3 separate regions of the Homo sapiens genome follow, and all the other regions are linked to region 3. Evidence: promoter capture Hi-C in 16 types of primary human blood cells and fetal thymus (Javierre and others, 2016). All regions are on one chromosome and are shown on one strand. The core of a region is centred on a gene start or on the middle of the fragment in contact, and the rest is flanking DNA. Distances in the headings are between cores, read along the strand shown. Region 1 overlaps ALDH1A2-AS1 (ALDH1A2 antisense RNA 1). Region 2 has its middle 160 kb from the start of POLR2M. Region 3 holds the start of GCOM1 (GCOM1, MYZAP-POLR2M combined locus).

Region 1 (2,700 bases), core at 192-2,691, 480 kb before region 3:
TCAGATAAAAATACATTGAATCCAAGCTATTTGAATGGACAATACTCAGTTGCACATACACACCATCAACTGCAGGGGGCGCCAATGCCTTTTCCCTCAGGCCCTTCAGAAAAGGCGGTGCAGCTGGAATTTTAATTTCTTCCTGTCTGTTAAGTGTGATTATTGATGAAGTACTGCGCTCATCCCAGTACCCAAATTGAAGCTTCTCGAACATATACGAAATGGAACTGGGCCTTACAACAAAGGCAAATCTAGTTCCCATGTTTAAAATAGTCTCCGGGGTCCCTGAAAAGTAGAGGGTATATTTTAAAAGAAAAGAACTGTGTTTTGTATCAAAACATAGTTTTTTGAGTCATAACCAATTAGGACTCTACTCCCTGCAACTCCAAATACCTCTTCTCATAGAATATAGTGACCAGAGGCCATATCAAGAAATGAGGAACTTAATATCTAGAGAATTTTTATGGTTAATAAATACCACAGTCTCAGCCTCTTTTCTTCTGGATGTTAGAAGGAAAAGGATAATTAAATGAGAGTTTAGATCTCACATAAAAAGTTAATATACAGGTTAAATAAAAATATAAGTGGATTTATTTTATAGAAGTTTTCATAATGGGTCCCAAATACTTCATTAAGCATTTCTGGATAAAAATATGTAAAGCTCTTTATAAGCTTTTGTTAATAAATTAAATACCATTTCTCTATAAATATATTTTGCATTAAGCTTTCCTGTTAGAGTTTTCAGGAAACATTTCAAATAAAGTGGCCAGGCATATCCCATTTGAGATGAATGAGATCATTAGGAAACACTTATATCTGAAATAAGCACTGAGATCATTCTGCATACAACCTGAGGGCCCTAATTTTTTAAATATTTCAAACAATGTGCCTCTTTCAAATCATTAGATGTAGAGACATTTAAGGAACTGATTCAATTAGCCCAGAAGAGGGGAATGCTATAATGTGTGATTTATTTTTGAAGATAAATTAAAATGCAAGTGTATCTGTTAGGAAAGGTAGGCTGTCATCATGGTTAGTAATGGGAACAGGAAAGCAATTAAGCAGGGCCACCTGAGGCTGAAACAGCCCCTAAACATAGAAACTTGACATTCAAGCTGGACATTCGGTTACTGTCAAAATCAAGTGCATCTTCTTTGAGAGGGATCTTTGAGCTGCATTTAGTTCCCTTCATTGATTTCTAAAGACTAGTTCTCAACTTAACAAATACTTTCCTCCCCTTAACTGCAGCTAACAAGAAACCTAAACTGTTATGGTTTCATAACTTAAAGTCAAACTTCACATAAAGCTGATGCCTTAAAATTACAGCTTTGCATTCTATTATTTAGGTGAGGAAATATGAGGCAAGAATTTATTTTTCTCCTCTGCAACTCCAGGATATTGGCTCCACCAGGCCTAATAAATTGTTTTCATAAGGAAATAAATACAGCATGCTGCAGCTTAGGTTCCCTTATGCAAGGGGTTTCAAACAAGATGTATCCTAAGCAATAAATAATTACAGAATGGGGGGGGTGGGAGGAGAAACACTGTAAAGGTGGGAAAAAAACAGTTTCTTAGCCAAATTGGGGGGAAAAGGCTGAAATTCAAATTGTTAGAAATCTGAAGGTAGTTGACTGTCTTTTTATTTTTAGAGACAGGGTCTCACTCCATCACCCAGGCTGGAGTGCAGTAGCGTGATCATAGCTCACCATAACCTTGAACTCCTGCTTCAAGCGATTCTCCTCTTTCAGCCTCCTGAGTAGCTAGGGCTATAGGAATGCACCACCACGCCTGGATACTTTTTTTTTTTTTTTGGTAGAGGCAGGGTCTTGCTATGTTGTCCAGACTGGTCTTGAACTCCTAGCCTCAAGCAATCCTCCCACCTTGGCCTAATTACGGGTGTAAACCACCGCATCTGGCCAAAGACTGTCTTCTTAACTATTGTGAAATCTGTAGAGGATATGAGAAAACACTAAAACTAGATGATAAAAGAAAGAGAAGAGGAAATAAGAATGTGAGAAGAGGTGTTAAGGCAGCCTTGGAAGTAATAGCCTTGTAAATCTTACAAACTGAAACCAAGAAGATGAACACCAAAGAAGCATTTATAATTCACTGTTCTTTTCCGCTACATCTTGTCCCTACCTTGATTTAAAAAGCTTGAACAACAGCCGGGCATGGTGGCTCATGCCTGTAATCCCAGCACTTTGGGAGTCCGAGGAGGGTGGATCAGTTAAGGTCAAGAGTTCGAGACCAGTCTGGCCAACATGGTGAAACTCCATCTCCACTAAAAATACAAAAATTAGCTAGGCATGGTGGTGAGTGCCTGTAATCCTAGCCATTCAGGAGGCAGAAGCAGGAGAATCGCTTGAACCCAGGAGGCAGAGGTTGCAGTGAGCCGTGATCATGCCATTGCACTCCAGCCTTGGTGACAGTCTCAAAAAAACAAAAAAGGGGGCTTGAACAAAAAGTGGCTGCTGTCACGAGCTGAATATAGACAAAATATATATCTTTTTTGGCCAGATACAGTGGCTGACACCTGTAATCCCAGCACTTTGGGAGGCCGAGGTGGGTGAATCATGAGGTCAGGCATTCGAGATCAGCCTGGCTGACATAGGGAAATCCTGTCTCTATCCAAAACACAAAAAATTAGCTGGGTGTGGTGGCAGATGCCTGTAATCCCAGCTACTCGGGAGGCTGAGGCAG
Region 2 (2,700 bases), core at 124-2,623, 270 kb before region 3:
TAATAAAAAAAATTAGGACTTATGGTTAAACTGTTGTGCAAATTGGCTGCTAAGGTGCACAAGAGAACCTTCTGGATGATGGAAAAGCTCTGTATCTTGTTACTGTTTGAGGTTAGACAAGTATATGCATTTCTGAAGATTCTTTTTTGAATAGTACATTTAAGATCTGTGCATTTCACAGTATGTGAAGTATGCCTCAAAAAAAAAAATTCGTAAAAATATTGAAACCTGGCTGGCCACAGTGGTTCACGCATGTAATCCCAGCACTTTGGGAGGTCAAGGTGGGCGGATCACTCAAAGCCAGGGAGTTCGAGACCGTTCTGGCCAACATGGTGAAACCATGTCTCTACTAAAGTAAAAAAAAAAAAAAAAAAAAAAAAATTGAAACATCGTCCGTGATATGTATACTGAACTGTCCAGGGGTGAAGTGCACTAATGTCAGCAACTTACTTTAAGTTCATAAAAAAACAAAAAAAAACAAAAAACAAAAAAAAAACCAAACTTGGATTAATGGATAGAAACACGGATCAATAAATAATAAAGCAAATATAACAAAATGCTAATGGTAGGATCCAGGTGGTGGGTATATTGGTGTTCACTGTACAAAGCAATTATTTCGACTTTTTATATATTTTACAATGTTCACAGTAACACTGTTGGAGAAAATCAGGCCTTGTATTTTCTATGTCTTTATTGTGTCTTTCTAGTAACTTTTATTGCATTTTTAAAAAGTAATGGTCTGTAAAAGCTTAGGGGAAAAACCTGGTTCTTGGACACGGATAGTTTGCAAAACAGTCTAGAACCCAACAGAAAAGCCTGAAGCCCAAAGTCTCCACAGAGCCCCCTGGCGCCCAGGGGCCTTAGTGCAACCTTTTTGATCTAATGGCAGATGTAAAAACGCTCTGTGAAAGTCAGTGAGGTTGGGGTCCCTTTCTCCACTGGCCTCAGGAGGAAAGGAGGGACAGGACATAGGTTAATGGAGTGGATCAAGTCCTGCCGTGATCAGAGATAAAATTCCAGAGACCCTCTGACCGGATCTAAGAGTGGTTCCCCAATTTGGCTGTGAATGAAAAGTATCTCAGAGCTTTAAAAAAAAAAAGTAGAGATTTCTGATCTAGTCCAGATATTCAAAATCAGAATCCCTAAAGGGTAGAACTCGGTAGTGTGTGGGGGGGTGTATGTGTAACAAATTGGCCTGGGGGTTCTCACGCAGCTAGGCCACACTGGTGAGGTCTGAGAACCACTGCCAGAGAAAAGGTGACCAGCGTAGATCAGAATCTCATTTTGCTTTAATTTTAAATTAGATCAGAGGTTCTCAAATGGGAGGGTGCATCAGAACCACAAAGGGATTGTAAAAATACAGATTGCTTGGCCTCATCCCCAGAATTTGTTTCAGAAGGTGTAGCATGAGCTCCAAAAGCGTGCAAGTCTAATAAAGTTCTCAGGCAATGCCGATGCTGCTGACTGAGGGGTACACTTTGAGATCACTGCTTTTGTTCAATGGCTACAACTGAAATGGGCCTTTTTGCCAGATTCTCAACTGGAGGTCTAGGCCTGTGCTATGCTGTTCAGTATAGGGGCCACTAGCCACATGTGGCTCTGTAACTTCCAAGTGAAATTAATTAAAATTGAATAAACTTGAACATTTAGTACTTCAGCCATGGTACCCACATTCCAGGTGCTCAGCATTCACTGGTGGCTGGTGGCTCCCCTAGTGGACAACATAGGTCAGAACATTTCCATCATCATGGAAGGTTCTGTTGGGGGGCACCTTTGCTCATTTCTTCAGGTATCATCACCCTTCCATGTCGATCAGCCTTTTGCTTAGACACGAGATTTCACAAAACCAACCAAGCACGTCTATGGCTTTACACACAGAGGTTTCATTTTATTATTTAAAAGTTTCTTTGAGGACCTACTATGGAAAACTACTGTGCTACGTGCTGTGTGAGCCACAAAGATCGATGGAACAATATCTTTACCTTCAAGTAAGCTTATAAACAAGTTACGAAGACACCTGTACACTTTATACCTATTGAGATTTTACTAGAAAACTCTGCCCACTAAGTGCCACCATTCAAAACATAGTAAAGCAATTACCAACCAATCAGAAATGGTTCCAGTCCCAAGCAGAAGGGCTGGTTACTCCCACAAATTAATAGAGTAATAGTGGCTAGCATCAACTGGGCCCTCACCGCGAGCCTGAATAGTGCACTAAGCCTTTGAAATGAATGGGGATGGTATCAGTGCTCACCTCACAGCCCTGCACTTAAACATGTCACATAGAAGGCACTGGAAATCTCCAAAGTGTCAATTTGAGCACCTTTTCTAAAAAATGACCGGCACTCAGGTCTTGCGGGGAGAGGTAGAAAAAGACAGGGAAGATCTATATTGTTATTCAGTTCTGAGAAAACTTTGAAATGTTCTGACTTTCCTTTGTCAATTTTACAAAAGTTTTCCTAATTTCCACTTAATCATCCACTCTTTTATTTGGCAGCATTCTCCTGAAACTTTGGTTTGAGGGCCACACAGGAGATTCAATGTGAAAACTCCCATAGTACTCCTTCCTCTCAGCTTCTACCTTAACTAGTTTGGGTTTGTTGTCATTCAAAACTAATTAAACAGAGGTTAATTTTCAGAATTGGCAGCTCTTAGGTAATTTTAGAAGCTCAATTTTACTTAAAAAAAAAAAAACTCTAT
Region 3 (2,700 bases), core at 54-2,553:
TGTGTGTGTGTGTGTGTGCGCCTGTGTACACAACCTAAGTGTCTGGTGAGTGCACGCACACACACACCCCAGAATCCATCAGTTGGCCCATGCCCAAGAGTAACACACCTTTCTTCTAGAGCTAAGAAAGACAGCTTATAAGGTGACCACCATCACTCGCTTAAGGCATGTAAAAGCAAATAAGCAGGTCCAAGCCTGCACGCAGACAGAACCAGTGGGGGTTTTGCTTTGGACTTAACCACCTGTTTAAATCTTGAGGAAACACGATTACAGAAGTCTCAATCAGAGCAAAGAGGTACCAAATGATAAGTATTGAACATCATGATAAATGGAAGAACTAAAAAGCCACAAGCCAAGCCCCTGGCTGTGGCTCTAAGGTGCTGACCGTGTTAGAAAGATGGAGCATTTCTTTTACAGAGCATCTGGAGAGATGGGAAAAGATGCCACAAAGATCAAAAAGAAACAGCACTTCCAAAGGGAAACCTTCCCTGGAGATGCTGTCCCAAGCTTTCAGTGCTGCCATTGTTGTCACTGTGCTAATATTTAAATCAGACAGAAGAAAGTGGTTTACATAAACCGGAGTCCCACACAGTCGGGCTCCTGGGCGGCCGGCTGCTGTTCTGGTTTGCCCACCTTGGCTAACCCCACTCCAGAATTACCCTATCACTAGTGGATACCCTATCACTAGTGGACACAAGTGACCCCATCTTTCTTTTAATTAATGGAAGAAGGAAAGTTTGAGTTTTAAATACATTCATTACTTTTGAGTCTCAAGGTAGGGACACTGCACAAATGTCTTCCTTCATTTTTAAACTGGTGCCGCCAATAAACTCGGCTTGACAGAAAGGCAGGAAGGAGAGGAAATCTCTGGGAATTCCATAAAGTCCCCTAAGCCCTCTCCTACCAGCTGGTGGGCCCCCTGAAACCTCAAGCGGGAGGGTCACTGCCAGAGCCGGCACAGGACCGGGGAGTTGAGCCCAGGGTGGGGCGTCGGGGCCAGGTGCTGGCTCCCGAGCTTTCCCATCCCTAGTCCCCTCTAGAGGGGGCGGCCGGGATGGGGGAACGGGACGGCGGCGGCTCCCGCCCCCGCTACTCACCCTCCTGCTGGGCGCCCCGGGCGTCCTGGCGGCGCCGCCCGAGAGCAGGGTGACCGTGGACGTGGAGCGCAGCATCCCGCAGCGGCGGTCGGTAGCGGGCTGGACGCCGGCGTTCCTCCCGGGCAGAATAAGCGTGCGGGGCCCGCCCTGCGCGGGGGCGACGCGGGACGGCGCCGGCTACTTGCAGCCTCAGCTGCACCGCGAAGGCCCGGGGGTGGGGCCGGGGGCGGGGCCGGGCCGGGCCGGGGCGGGGCCGAGCGCGCTCACCCGACCCGTCAGGCTGCATTTTCTCCCGAGGGCGCCGACCCGGTTAAAGTTGAGCACCATCCTCTCCCAGGGCGCTGCGCCCTCCCAGGGTCAGTCCCAGGGCAAGAAGGAGCCCTGGACAGCCTGGACGCCCATGCTCTCTCTGTCCCCCGCAGAGTTGAGATCCACCTGCCCATTCAGTCTCACGACCTACCCCCACCCCGGACTGCCCCCTACAGCCTCTGCACGCCCTCGTATCACTGGGACCCTCACCCCATGTCATTCATTCAGTATTTCCTGAATGCCTATTATGCGTCCCCACCAGCAGCCAACCCAGTCGACTGGCTGTTGGCCTCGGAGAGTTTGCAGTGTGGTGGGGATGACAGGTGCCGGGCTGTGGTAGAAGAGGAGATACCATGTACTAAGGGAGCACACAGCCAACCTCAGAGGAGGTGATGACTAAGCTAAGACCTGAAATGCAAGTAGGAGTGGGCCACACTGCCCATATTTATTCAATGATTACTGTGGGCCTGCCTGGCGAGCACTTTGCGTGTGTTACCTCATTTAATCCTCACCATTGCCCTTTGAGGGAGTCACTGTTGTTACCTTGTATCCCCATTTTGCAGATGAAGACGCTGACTCACCTAGGGATTGAGCAACACAGCAGGCGACCCACTGGCCTCTCAGTGGCAAAGGTAGGATATGAATCCCCCAGTCCGACCCTAGTGCCTTGCTTGTCCCCTCTGCTGTCCCCTAACAGAGGGAGGAGGGAGTCCCAGGTCAAAAGAACTAGCATGCACAAAGATGGAAGGAAAGCAAGGGAAGGTATAAAATATGTTTCAAGAATTGGAAGTATCACAGTGCAGTGGGAAAACAGTGGAGAAGCAGCGGAAGGGAGCTGAGGACATCATGAGGAACCTGTGTGCTTAGCTGGAAATTTGGCCTTTATCTTGAGGACAAAGTGTTTTTCAGCAGGGAAAGACACAATCTCTGTCTTCAAAGCCCAGGTCAAGCACTGCCTCCCCACGGAGCTCTCCAGAAACCCCTTCCCCAAACACGCATGCTCAGGAACTTAGCAGCTCCGCGGGACCCTGTCTTCTGTTAGAGTTATCTATGTGTGTGCCTGTACCCTGTCCTTCTGGAGGGCAGAGGCCAGGCCTTGACCCTCTCTGAATGCCCAATGGCACCAACAGGGAAGATGCTGAAAAAAAAATGTTGCTAAACAGAATTACAGATGATCCTGTGGAACTCACTCCTTTTGTAGATGAGGAAACTGAGGCCGGTGTATACAAGTGACTTTCCCAAAGTTGCACAGCCTGTTCTTCACCATCCTCATCGTCATCCTCACAGTAGCTGT

What was found. The method cuts DNA at HindIII sites, captures the fragments that hold promoters and counts their contacts. A CHiCAGO score of 5 or more calls a contact.
Region 1: a contact is called between a fragment that was not itself captured here and the fragment with the promoter of GCOM1 in region 3, in 1 of 17 cell types (fetal thymus). The highest score is 7.0, in fetal thymus.
Region 2: a contact is called between a fragment that was not itself captured here and the fragment with the promoter of GCOM1 in region 3, in 4 of 17 cell types (naive CD4 T cells, naive B cells, total CD4 T cells and 1 more). The highest score is 9.6, in naive CD4 T cells.

What each region holds. Positions count from the first base shown.
Region 1 is chr15:58,068,393-58,071,092 of GRCh38, reverse strand. It overlaps ALDH1A2-AS1 (ALDH1A2 antisense RNA 1), which reads right to left. Exons shown (of 3, transcript NR_147215.1): 3 at 1-285. Among named protein-coding and RNA genes, the nearest start is that of ALDH1A2, 4.0 kb to the right of the region's middle. The HindIII fragment of the contact is 1,429 bases long and covers 727-2,155 here.
Region 2 is chr15:57,864,497-57,867,196 of GRCh38, reverse strand. No RefSeq gene overlaps it. Among named protein-coding and RNA genes, the nearest start is that of POLR2M, 160 kb to the right of the region's middle. The HindIII fragment of the contact is 1,245 bases long and covers 751-1,995 here.
Region 3 is chr15:57,590,507-57,593,206 of GRCh38, reverse strand. GCOM1 (GCOM1, MYZAP-POLR2M combined locus) reads right to left here and starts at 1,303. Exons shown (of 17, transcript NR_104371.3): 1 at 1,098-1,303. It overlaps MYZAP (myocardial zonula adherens protein), which reads right to left and starts at 1,303. Exons shown (of 13, transcript NM_001018100.5): 1 at 1,098-1,303. The coding sequence starts at 1,172. RefSeq lists a silencer at 1,305-1,414. The HindIII fragment of the contact is 3,808 bases long and covers 510-2,700 here.